Linked DNA regions of Homo sapiens: all the other regions are linked to region 3. Evidence: promoter capture Hi-C in 16 types of primary human blood cells and fetal thymus (Javierre and others, 2016). All regions are on one chromosome and are shown on one strand. Each heading gives the region's core, a stretch centred on a gene start or on the middle of the fragment in contact. The rest is flanking DNA. Distances are from core to core; before and after follow the strand shown.

Region 1 (3,883 bases), core at 163-2,662, 1.4 Mb after region 3:
TTACAGCAGAAGTCAATAGACAATATGCTAATTTTAAAAAAGAAACAAAAAATAGAGATTTAAATATGGGAAAGTAATGTTAGCAACGCAACAAAGTTAGAAAACCTAACTACCAGAAGGGGGAAAATGTTGACAAAATATAGAAATCATAGATTACACAGATGTAGAGTTCACAATTACATTGTGAATCACAAACCATGTAATTCTTGTTGGTGAAAACTTGAGGCCCCCATCAGAAACAAATACAAAATTACCATGCAGGTATTTTTTTTTTTTTAAACCCAGGGTATATGGAACTCTCCTGAGAGGGGGTGAAGACTACAGCCTGCAGAAGATACACTCAAAATAACAAATCATAAGTCAAATGAGGAAATAATCCACCTTGAACAAGACTCAGCAGATACGAAAAGCAGCAAAAGCAGACACTCACGAACTTGAAATATTATGACCCATTTGGAAAAGACTATAGAATGGTTATATTTGAAATAATTAATAAATTAGAATAAGTTCTCGAAACATAATGAAAGAAAAAGATTTTTTTGGGAAAAAAGGTAGATTTAAATATTAAACAGCCTTTTCTCTAAATGAAAAAACATTTTAACAAAAAGCTTAATAGAATGGTTAAATGTCACAGACACAGTTCAGCAAAGATAAGAAACAAGAAGGAATTTTTAAAAGTCGTGTTTAGGGTAAATGGGTAAGAGATAATATTTAAAAAGATACCAGTTGAAAGATGATCATCTTCAAGAAATACTCTAGAAACCAGAAAAAAATAGGAAATATATGAAGTTCATAAGTAAATACATCATAATAAACATCAATAAAGCAGGGCAAATCTTAGAAAACTTGAGAAATAAAGACAGATTATCTTTAAATAAGGGACATTTAGATCAACAATAAATTTTCCATAAAAACAAATTAAATAAGGGAAACTAGGTGAAAGGAACTTTCTGTGGTATCTTTGCAGTGTTTCTATAAATATAAAATTATTCTAAATTTAAAGCTTAATTTGCAAAAGCAAAAACAAACAAATAAATAAAAATGTTAAAGCGAGGCAGAAAAAAGAAATTAATTATGTCTTGTCAATGCTGAGGGAAAATGAACCCCAAACTGCAATTCTATACTCAAAAAATCCCTTTATTTCTTTTGCATGAGTAAATACATCTTCCCATGGAGAAACCACTGCTAAAAAGAACTACTATAGTATATAGCTTAGTAAGAAGAAAACGGAGCTCAAGAAATACACGCAAATGCAAAAATAATTAAAAAAAAAAAAACTAAACATGTCAGATAAAGAACTGGAAAGTCTACTCTTGTAGGCTGACAGTGGTTATACTTAGACAATGAGAATAAGATGACATAAGGTACAGGTTATTTTTTATGTATCAATATTTTCTATATTTTTCTCAAGGCTTAAAATGAGTATTTTAATGAGAAAAAAAGAATATAATGTTTTACATCTAAAAACAAAAAAGTAAGGCTGGGAAAAGAAAAGAGGGGGGAAAGAGAAAGAAGAAAAGAGTAAAAAGAGAAAGAGAAGAAAGTAGAAGGAAGAAAGGAAGGAAAAAAGAAAGGGAAGGAGGGAAGATAAAAGAAAGGGAAGGAGGGAAGATAAAAGAAAGAAGGAACAAAAGGGGATGGATATGAAAAGATGAAACACTGTTGTTAGATGTCCCTGGCAAGTGGTCAGAGTCACTGTGTCCTGCCACCACTTAATCCATTATCTTATTCCCTTTGAACAAAGTTGTTCAGATCTAGCAAAATGCAATAAAACTGCCTTGACACTCCTGCCAACCTTTCTATCTTGAAGGTAAAGCTTGCATTCAGCTCTTTGAAATCTTCCTTGAGAACATCAGCCTCTCCCTTCTTTAACTTGTTTGAGCACTTTGTTGGACCACTCTCTTTGACTAGATACTTCTATTTTGTTTAATATGACTGGCAGTGGTAAGAAGCAATTCTGTGTGTGGTGGCCTCCTACTGGTTTCACCACTGCTCCTTGTACTGCCTTTGTGCCCAGGGCAGTGTGGAATACTTAATAGATACCAAATCACCTCCAATCTTATTAACTGTTTGCTCATTCCAGATAATTCCCCATTCTCATAAACAGCCTCACACTTAAGTTAGCCTAGCGGTCCAGAAGAGCAACACAGCCCGTGTCCAGGAGAACCTTCTTCTAAGGGCAGCATTCTACATGCCAGAGAGCAGACAGCAGCTTCTAAAATAAAGCTCCAACGTCATGCAGAGTTGCTCTCTCTGCAGCTCAGATTCAGCTCCCTCAGGATGAAATACATATGTTAAGGCATGGTTACAATAACTTCAGCAATAGTAGGGTGTTAGCTATTCTCTCTCTCTCCTCCCTCTTGATTTTTCAAACCTGATGAATTCAATTCATACTCACCATTTGCAACTGAAGTTAAATATAAATGAAAGAAAATAGCATTATAGCATCATGCAGAAATCAAACGGTAGTTCCACTGATAGAGTGGGCCTTAATATTGAGATGTGGGAAATACATGGAGAAAACACCTGAAAATTGATTTTATTTCCTCCTTTCACTAGGAAGCTTTGATGTCCTGTAAACACACATTCAAAAGTGAAGTCACTTTAGGCGGTATTGGAGAGTCATGGTGTAGGGGCAAAATATAAATCAGAAACAAAACATAAAATTAGAGTCAGATAAGTAATTGTGGGTTTGAATTCTTCTCCAAATACCAAGTGAGAAACAGGAATTTGCCTTCTCTGAGCTTTGTTGTCTTCATGTGTAAAATGGGAATCTTATTGTTTTTCTTCTTGAAATGATATACATAGAAATGAATGCCATAGCATAAAACCTCTTCTTCTTGAAATGATGCACTTAGAAACAAATGCCATAGCATAGAACCTCACACATAGTCACTCGACTGAATTTTTATTCCCCTTTCCTTTCCACAGAGTTTGGAGACAAAGTATGAAAATAATTTTCTCCTGGCAAGTTCACCATCCTCATCCTCAAACATAAACCTATATAAATGCAGCTTTCAGACAATCTCTAAGCAAAGCCATTAAGAAGACTCTATCCCTTGCCATTCTTCCAAGCCAGCCTATACAGCAATTTGCAACTTTATGATGTGATAGAGTTTCTTTGTTTTGATTTTTCATTTGCATATTTATTGAGATATGACGATCTTAATTAGTTCTGCTTTTTTTGTTTTGTTTGTTTTCTTGGTTGGGAAAAGACAGCTTCCTATAGTGAAAAATAATTCTGCATGCTAACAGGGTGAACAAAACCCAGCCTGTGGCATTCCTTAATGTTGATGGTGATTTAAACGCAGTTTTGCGGATTCTTTTTATCACTTGTTTTCTCTTTAAATGCTGAGGTAATGCTCAAGACTTGGGTGAATGCCAGACCTCAAGAGGCAGCCACCTACTGAGAAGCAAGAGGCGAACACTTAAAATTCCAGACACTCAGATTCATCCAGCATACTCTCCCAGCTACCTGTCACCCATCTCCCTCCTGAAAAAGCTGAGCTCCACCGAATGTCTCCTTCTAATGAAACGCAACTCTGGCTGCATCTCAGTTTTTGCAGGCGAGAAAAGAGCAACTCTGAATTCCCTGGGTGAGTGAGTCCCCGAGGCAGTATTTAGCAGCATTGCCCACACCCTGCTATTCTCCCTTGACCTTCTATCTATTTTCTCCAGGAGCAGAGCTGTGTGAACGCTGTGCTCCATCTAAGAGGCACGAGCAGCCTATTACACAACTCATCCACACTTACAGACACACTGAGTATGCTCACCATGAATGTCTCACCATCATCACCCGGGACAGTTAGCATGGTTCCCTAGGGTTTTGTGTTTGTCAGGTACTTCACACCATCACAAAGTGTGTCCCTGAGTTAACACATTT
Region 2 (4,141 bases), core at 569-3,068, 1.2 Mb after region 3:
TGCAGATTTCTGTGGCTCTCCCTGTGAGTAATCCTTTGTTCTCTGGTGCTCTTCTTTCACCTATTCTAGTTACCCCTGACTTTCCAAGATTTTTTCTCTGTCTTCTCTTATCAGCAAAACCTTCAGGCTCTGATTAAATTTCTTCTTCCTTTGCTAATGGACTCTAGGCAGAAAACTGGGATAGTGATTTAGACCAGCTCTTTAATTTCCATTTTCTTAGGGATCACAGTCTTATCCTACCTGTTGTCCAATGTCTGAAAAATATATGTGTGTATATATGTATGTGTATATGTATATGTATGCAGTATGCCACTTTAATTTTTTTCTCATTGCCATCTGTGTGTATCTTAAAAGATATTTTCTGAGTGGTTCCACTCAGAAATTAGTCTGAATGATACAAATATAGATTCAAAGTTTCCATAAAAACTATGCTTTAATACAGCTCCTCCCTCCCCCCAATTTATGTTATTTTTGTGGCAAGTTGCATCTTTATATAGGATGTATCCATTAACATAGATTTATATTGTTTTATGCATTTAAATCATATAAAAAATAAAGTTAACAAAAACTAAAAATACAATAATATCAGCTTTTATCCTTATGTAATTATCTTTACCAGGATTTATCATTTATGCATATAGCTTTGATTTTCTGTCTGATATTCTTTAATTTGAGCCAAAGGATTCTAATTAGGATTTCTTGTAGGGCAGTTCTACCAGCAATGAACTCCTTCAGCTTTTGTTTATCTGAGAATGAGATTCTTGAATGTGTAGATATGTCTTTTATCAAATTTTAGAGTTTCTTCAAATATTATTTTCTCTCCTATTTCCCTTTCATCTCCTTCTGGGATTCTCATTATGTGTATGTTTTTATGCCTAATGGTGTCCCACAAAACCTTTAGGCTCTGTTCCTTTTTCTTCATTTCTATTTTTCTTCTGTTCCTCAGACTGAATATTTTAAATGGTTCTACCCACATTTTCTCTGATTATCTTTTCTGTTTGCTCAAATCTGCTATTGGTATCCTTTAGTGAGTTTTTTGCTTCAGTTATTATATCTTCAGCTTTAAAATTTCTGTTTTTTATAGTTTCTCTTTATTTATATTTTTTATTTATTCATATGTAATTATTCTGGTTTCCTGTAGCTCTTTAAGGTAGTTGAATTACAGTTATTTGTCTAGTAAATTAATGTCTGCTTTCTCAGGAACCGTTCCTATAAATTTCTTCTGTGAATAGACCACACTTTCTTGTTTTGTTTCGTGCTTCATAATTTTGAAAACAAACATTTTTAATACTAGAGTGTGATAACTCTGGAAATCAGACTTTTCCCTATCCTCTGCAATTGTATTAGTTGCTTGTTATAGGCTGTAGCCATTGGTTTAGTAATTTTGCTGAACTAATTTTGTACTGTATAGTCTTCTTCACGTGTGATCTCCAAAGTCTCTGTTCATTTAGTTTGTATTCAGCAAGTATTTTGGCAGATACTTCCTTACATGCCAGGAACGTCAACCTCCAAAATAAGAAAATTGACAAAAAAAGAGGAGGAAACAAATTTTAATAATAATAATAATCTATTTATCCTGGCCTTTGCAGGATAGGCTGAGTAACAGCTCAGCCTTCCAACATCAGATTAATTTCACTTTATTCTGCAAAAAGAATGTACTATTCTCCCACCTCTGTCTTCCATGTTTTGAAGCTTATGTTTGAAGCTATTACTTTGTGTTAATGATTCTTAGTTCACAATCTTAAAAAGAAAACAGACTGCAAATCTGTGTCTTTTATGGCAAAGAAAGAAACAAGTAGTGGTGTTATATTACCCCTTCAAAAGGAATAGCCCCTGTGTTATTTGCAGATTGGCTATGTGCTGGGTCACTCCTTCGATGTTTAGCCTTAGTTTTCGCTTCCTGCTTGTTCCAAGCCTAGAGATTAGCCCTAAGTGAAAGCTTAGGGCTTTCCCAGGTCTTTTCTGAGCATGTATCATGTCGTGGGCATATGTGTACCTTTCTAAATCTTTCAGTATACACAGGTGTCTTTGAGTAGCCTACTTTCCCAAAGAATCTCTCTTCTTATGTTTTCACCCATGCTTTGGGTATTCTCCTGTATGCTTCAGCCATAATCTTTTGCCTCAGGTGATTTTGGCTTCTTCAGTTGATTTACAAGGTTCTCAAGGATTGCATGCTGTTTTTCCACCCTGTGTGAGTTCCAGATCAGACAAAACAATGACAAGCAACTTGTGTCAGTTCTTCCAGCAGCCCCCAGACAGACAGATTAGAACAAACATAATTCTTTGCAAATGAGGTGTGTAATACTCCCTCCAGAATCAGGAAATGAGGTTCTGGGAAAGTGGGCTGCTGTCTTCAAAATCACTGCCAAACTGGAGAAGGGGTAGAGCAAGGGCAAGTAAAAATGCTACATAACTTTTCTACCATTTTTAAATGGTCTTTTTCTTGATTCAGCATTTGCTTGGTTATTGTAATTCTTTTATGATTTTCAGGATTCTGACAGTTGATTCTGACAACTTTGCTTGATTTTTCTGTTTCTGTTTGAAGAATGAATTGTTAGAGTTGCCTACTCCCCTACTTCTGCTGACATCATCTCTATTTTTACTTATTTGTTTTCTGGACATTACTAGTAGATAACAAAAGAGCAATAGAGATGAAATATGAAACAAAACCCCTGCAATTCTTTCCTGCTCCTGGACTGCACTTTGCAATAGGCAACAACATGAACTTTTACAAATTCAAAGGTGAAATCCAGGAGAAGGTGTCCTGAAGGGATTTGTGGGCATGCTGTTGCTAGACTTGAATACGTTCGATTCCTTTTACATATCTCCATTCTAATGAGAAGACCCTACATTTTCATAATTAGTGTGCCAATCTTACCAGCAGAAAGAAGACTAAAAATAATTTTGTCCCTGCAGTGTAGCAATGTGCCCAATAAATGTATTTGTTTGGATCCTCAGATAATTAATTTTGGCAGTATGTGTTCATTATTCATCCATTGATTAATTTACTCAACATATAAACTCTATGTATATACATATATATACACATATATATACATATACGTATATAAGTATATGTATATATATACTTATATACGTATATGTATATTATATATGTGTATATATACACATAGTTTATATATTAAATATATACATATATACATATATATACAGGTATATATACACGTACGTATATGTACATATACGTACGTGTATATATACAGGTATATATACACGTACGTATATATACATATACGTACGTGTATATATACACGCGTATATGTACATATACGTGTATATACACGTATATACGTATATATACGTATACATATATCTATATGTATAGATATACGTATATACACATGTATCTGTATATACATATATGTATATACACATGTATCTGTATATATATATTATGTATGTATACATTTATACATATGTATGTATACATGTATATATGTATGTATACATGTATATATAGGTATGTATACATGTATACATGTATATATGTATGTATACATATATGTATGTATACATGTATATATGTATGTATACATGTATGTATACATGTATACATGTATATATGTATGTATACATGTATGTATACATGTATATATGTATGTATACATGTATACATGTATATGTATGTATACATGTATACATGTATATATATGTATACATATACATATACATGTGGCTATATACACATATATATATACATATACATGTGGCTAGGGGCTGTTGCATTGGACAGCACACAGATCTAGCTGGTTTCTTGAGCTGTTACTTGGGCATTTACCAAGTGGTTCAGTCAGAAAAATTAATGTTTTATACTTAAAATAAGTTGTTTCTACACTATACTATATATGGTATAATCTATAGCATAAACCGCACAGTTCTTGAACACATATATATATGTGTTGTCATTTAAGTGTATATCATTTTGTTCATTAGTGGTATACATAAATGGAAAAAGAAAATCCCTGACCTCATGGAGCTTATATTTTAGTGGTAGAGGAATTTTTAAAAAGTATGTAAATAAATAGACTTAATAAATGCACATTATGAATATATATTATATAATATGCAAATATAGGCTATATGGGATATTAGTTTTTAAACCATATAGTAAGGTTAGAAG
Region 3 (3,883 bases), core at 1,030-3,529:
CCCCATCTTAATCCCATTTTACTGTCAGGATGAAAGACTTCTTGCCCATCAGGGCCCCTTGCTCCACAATCTGCATTTTTACCAAATCCAGAGGGGTTTTTAAAGGTTTTTTGTTGTTGTTGTTTTTGTTGTTCTAACTTATGGATGTCTCTTCTTCTCTGCTTGACATGTTAAAAATCCTCTCTCTCTCTCTTTCTTTCTCTCTCTCTCTCTCTCTCAAAAAAGTGGGCTGGGCATCTTTTGGACACAACCATTTCAGTTCCAGGCTGGAGCACTGATGCTGGGCTGAATCCACTTGGCGTTCCCTGCCCAGGAGTGGTCTGAGAGAGGCTGTGTTTCTCTGCTGCCACCTGCCACCTCCCAAGAGAGGCCAAGTGTTAGGATCTGACTACACCTCAGTTTCCTGACTCTCAGATATTCTAAAGCCAATCCCAGAATGGCACTTGAAGTGACAGGGAAATTCCCAGTGGCCTAAGGACAGCCAGGATTGGCCTAGGGCCAGTAGCAAGTGGTTTGAGAGTCCAAGGAGGTCTTCACACTCTGTCCCCGCCTGCTGGTGGGAGGGCAAAATGCCAGTCTGGAGACAAGGCCATAATGGCGACGGGGGTAAAAATCTCCCTGGGGCCAAGGGAAGGTGGAACGTGACGGGAAGTCGGGAAAACTGCCTTGTATAGGCATGTTCTTTTCTTCCATTTTTTTCGTCCAAGTTTTTACTCCAAGCGACAGTGCCACCCGAAGGCGACCGGCCTGTTTGTGGTTGCGCCTGGGGCAGGCGGTGACACCGGCATACCCCTTCCCCCATCTTGCCTGCAAGTTGCATGACCTGCATCGGAATCCACAGGGGGGCGGGGGAGACTCCTTTCAGATACTGGATGCAGTTGAATTGAATTCAATGTATTTTGCTTCCTCGCCTGCCCTCCTCCAAGCTCGGGAAGGAGAACCCTGCTTTCTTCTGCGTGTGAATGCTGTAGTGTGTCTGCCTGCTCGGACTCCCCTAACCCTTTCTTCTCCTTTCCCACAGCGAATGCTCGTTTTTTTTTTTTTCAGCAAACAGCTCACACTTGGCATCTTTATGTTTTATTAAGAAAAAAATCCCTACCAGCGCAAAAGCGGGGCCCCCCCCACACACACTTCTTTCCCGGATGAGATCTGAGCTCTCGTCGAAAGCTGCACCTGCTTTGCGTCCCTACCAGGAAGGGGTGCTTGTGTGGGAGGGAAGGAGGAGGTTCTGCGCCCCCGAATCCGGAGAAAGCAGCCCGCCCGCCCCCTCACCCGGCAGCCAGCTCAGCTCACCCGAGAGCTGAGCCCGAGAAGCCGGCCTCTGACGGTGCTGGCGTGGCGCTTGCCAAAATATGCCCCTTGCATCTCAATTTCCCCCGGCCATTTCTCTTGCACGCACAGCTCGCCCGGGGCCACCTCGGCTCTCCAGCGCAGCCCTTTCGACCCCTGTTTCTTCCTTCCCCGATCCATGCCTGCTCAAGGCCGAATGCAAAACCCACCTCCAAGAAAGCGCAGCGGGCACGGGGGGCACCTAGCGTGCCATGTCCCGCAGTCCCCTCCCAGCCAAGACCAGAGCCCCAGACTCTAGATTACGGAAATGAGTGTCATTCAGACCAAGGACTGCGCGTCTGCGGTCCCGGTCCCCGGCTCTGGGTGCTTCTCTGGGGTGTCTGTGCGCTCCGGCACCCCCCGTCGCCGTCCGTGAGCCTGCGCCCCCCACCCACCCAGGCTTGGGAGCGCCCCCCACCCAAGGCTTGGGAGCACTCCCCAATCACCTCCGCCACGTTCATTTCACTTCCTACCGCGGTCCGGATTGCAGCAAAACCGGGTAGCGCGAGGGCCAAAAAGTGGAAAGGAGAGCGCCTTTCCGTGTCGTGCAGCCAGCTCGCCAACTCTCCCTCCCCAGCCCCGACCCTCGCAATCTCAAATGCAACTTTTTCCCTTCGGTCTCGGTTTCCCCCGGGCTGCGGCTAGCGGGCGCCGCGCTGCGAGGCGTGGAGCGGGCGGGCTGCCGCGAGGCTGCGGGTGGCGGTGCCGGCTACAGCCGCGAGCCGGCGAGTGGGTGGGTGGGTGGGTGGGGAGGAGGGAGAGGACAGGCGGGGAGAGAGACGGGTGTGGGGAGGGGAGGGAGGGGGAGATTCCGCTCTCCTGCCGCTCCCAGCCCGGGCGGGGGGCGGGGGGAGGAGGCCGCGACGAGGGAGGGGAGGAGGGAGGGAGGAAGGGAGGGAGGGAGCCGAGGAAGACGCTCCGATAACCCGTGCGTTTCGTAAGGCTCGGAGCACTTGTACATTTCTGCAGCCGCGCGGCGAGCCATTCGCGGCGGCTGCTGCAGCTCCTACTGCATCTTCCTTCTCTTCCTTTCCTCGGGCTCCGGGTGTGTGTATGTGTGAGAGTGAGTGTGTGTGTTTTGCAGGTGCGTGGTGTGTCCGTTTTAATTCTGCCCAGTAGGTGGGACTTGGTGACTTTAGCACCATTTTTTCCTTTTCCTTTTTTTTTTTTGCCTCCCCACCGTCTGTTGCAACCCTGCAAAGTCTCGGAGTCGGAGAGCGCGCCTCGCTTCCAGAGCCCCCGGACCCGGCGAGTCAGCGATCGCCGAGCCGGCCACCATGCCCGGCAGACCGCGCCACTAGGCGCTCCTCGCGGCTCCCACCCGGCGGCGGCGGCGGCGGCGGCGGCGTCCGCGATGGTTTCAGACGCTGAAGGATTTTGCATCTGATCGCTCGGCGTTTCAAAGGCAGAGGCCCCCCCTCCCCCTTCCCCCCTCCCTCGCCGTCTTTGTTTCCTTCCCCCCCTGCTCTCCCCACTCCCCCCACCCCACCCCCCTCTCCTCTCCTCCTCCTCTTTTTTAGAAGCAGCGATCGGAGATGGATGTCTCTCTTTGCCCAGCCAAGTGTAGTTTCTGGCGGATTTTCTTGCTGGGAAGCGTCTGGCTGGACTATGTGGGCTCCGTGCTGGCTTGCCCTGCAAATTGTGTCTGCAGCAAGACTGAGATCAATTGCCGGCGGCCGGACGATGGGAACCTCTTCCCCCTCCTGGAAGGGCAGGATTCAGGGAACAGCAATGGGAACGCCAGTATCAACATCACGGACATCTCAAGGAATATCACTTCCATGTAAGTCAGGCGGCCGCTCCCCAGCCTGCCTCCCCCGCGCTCTGCGTCTCCCTCCTGCCCACCCGCGGCCGGGAGCCGGCCCTCCGCCCGCCCCAGCTCGCCGCTGCCCGCCGCCCGCTGGGCGCGCGTCAGGCTCGCTCTGGCTCGGGAGATGCTCTCCGGCTGCGCATTCCAGGTGACTCCGGCCCTGGCGAGGCGCGATCCGGCTATGCGTGTGTGTGCCTCTCCCCGGAGAGGACCCCGGCCGCCGAGGGCACGCGGGGCCCAGCTACCGCCCGCCTCCCAACCAGTTGCTGGCTCGTTTCGATGGTGCAAATTGTTTTTTTTTGCTCCCCACTAAATAGCAACAGTTTGGCCACGCTCAAGTGGAATAAAGTAGACGAGGTTCGATTCTTTGGCAGAGGCGGCAGCGGCGGTGGCAGCGGCGGCAGCGCTTAGCCGGCAGGGAAGGTGACAGATAGGGACTGCTCGCGATCCAGCCGAGGTGTTTAACTATTTCCATTTGGAAACAGCAAAACATGCTGACAAGTAAACAAGTTGCGAGCTGGCTGCTCGCGGGGAGACTTTGGACGTGTGGAGGCCGTCATGGACGCCTACCTCTTCCCTTCCCCTCCTGCAGCCCGCCCTCTCCAGCCCCATTTTGGGCATTTCCGAGACACCCCTTTGCCACCCTCATCTGCATCTGGGCGCCTACAGATCCCTTCCCAGTTTGGGCTTTGATAACTGCTCGGAACTATTCCGAGTCAGGATGGCGCAGGGAGAGGAGAGGGC

What was found. Contacts are between HindIII fragments. The CHiCAGO score rates a contact against its expected background, and 5 or more counts as called.
Region 1: a contact is called between a fragment that was not itself captured here and the fragment with the promoter of NTRK3 in region 3, in 1 of 17 cell types (naive CD4 T cells). The highest score is 5.6, in naive CD4 T cells.
Region 2: a contact is called between a fragment that was not itself captured here and the fragment with the promoter of NTRK3 in region 3, in 1 of 17 cell types (naive CD4 T cells). The highest score is 5.3, in naive CD4 T cells.

Annotation. Positions count from the first base shown.
Region 1 is chr15:86,892,792-86,896,674 of GRCh38, reverse strand. All of the region lies in intron 22 of AGBL1 (AGBL carboxypeptidase 1), which reads right to left. Among named protein-coding and RNA genes, the nearest start is that of AGBL1-AS1, 580 kb to the right of the region's middle. The HindIII fragment of the contact is 813 bases long and covers 1,006-1,818 here.
Region 2 is chr15:87,034,231-87,038,371 of GRCh38, reverse strand. No RefSeq gene overlaps it. Among named protein-coding and RNA genes, the nearest start is that of LINC00052, 540 kb to the left of the region's middle. The HindIII fragment of the contact is 247 bases long and covers 1,695-1,941 here.
Region 3 is chr15:88,255,135-88,259,017 of GRCh38, reverse strand. NTRK3 (neurotrophic receptor tyrosine kinase 3) reads left to right here and starts at 2,279. Exons shown (of 20, transcript NM_001012338.3): 1 at 2,279-2,374; 2 at 2,532-2,734; 3 at 2,850-3,112. The coding sequence starts at 2,865. All of the region lies in intron 1 of NTRK3-AS1 (NTRK3 antisense RNA 1), which reads right to left. RefSeq lists enhancers at 426-720, 3,061-3,597, 3,598-3,883. The HindIII fragment of the contact is 4,913 bases long and covers 1-3,883 here.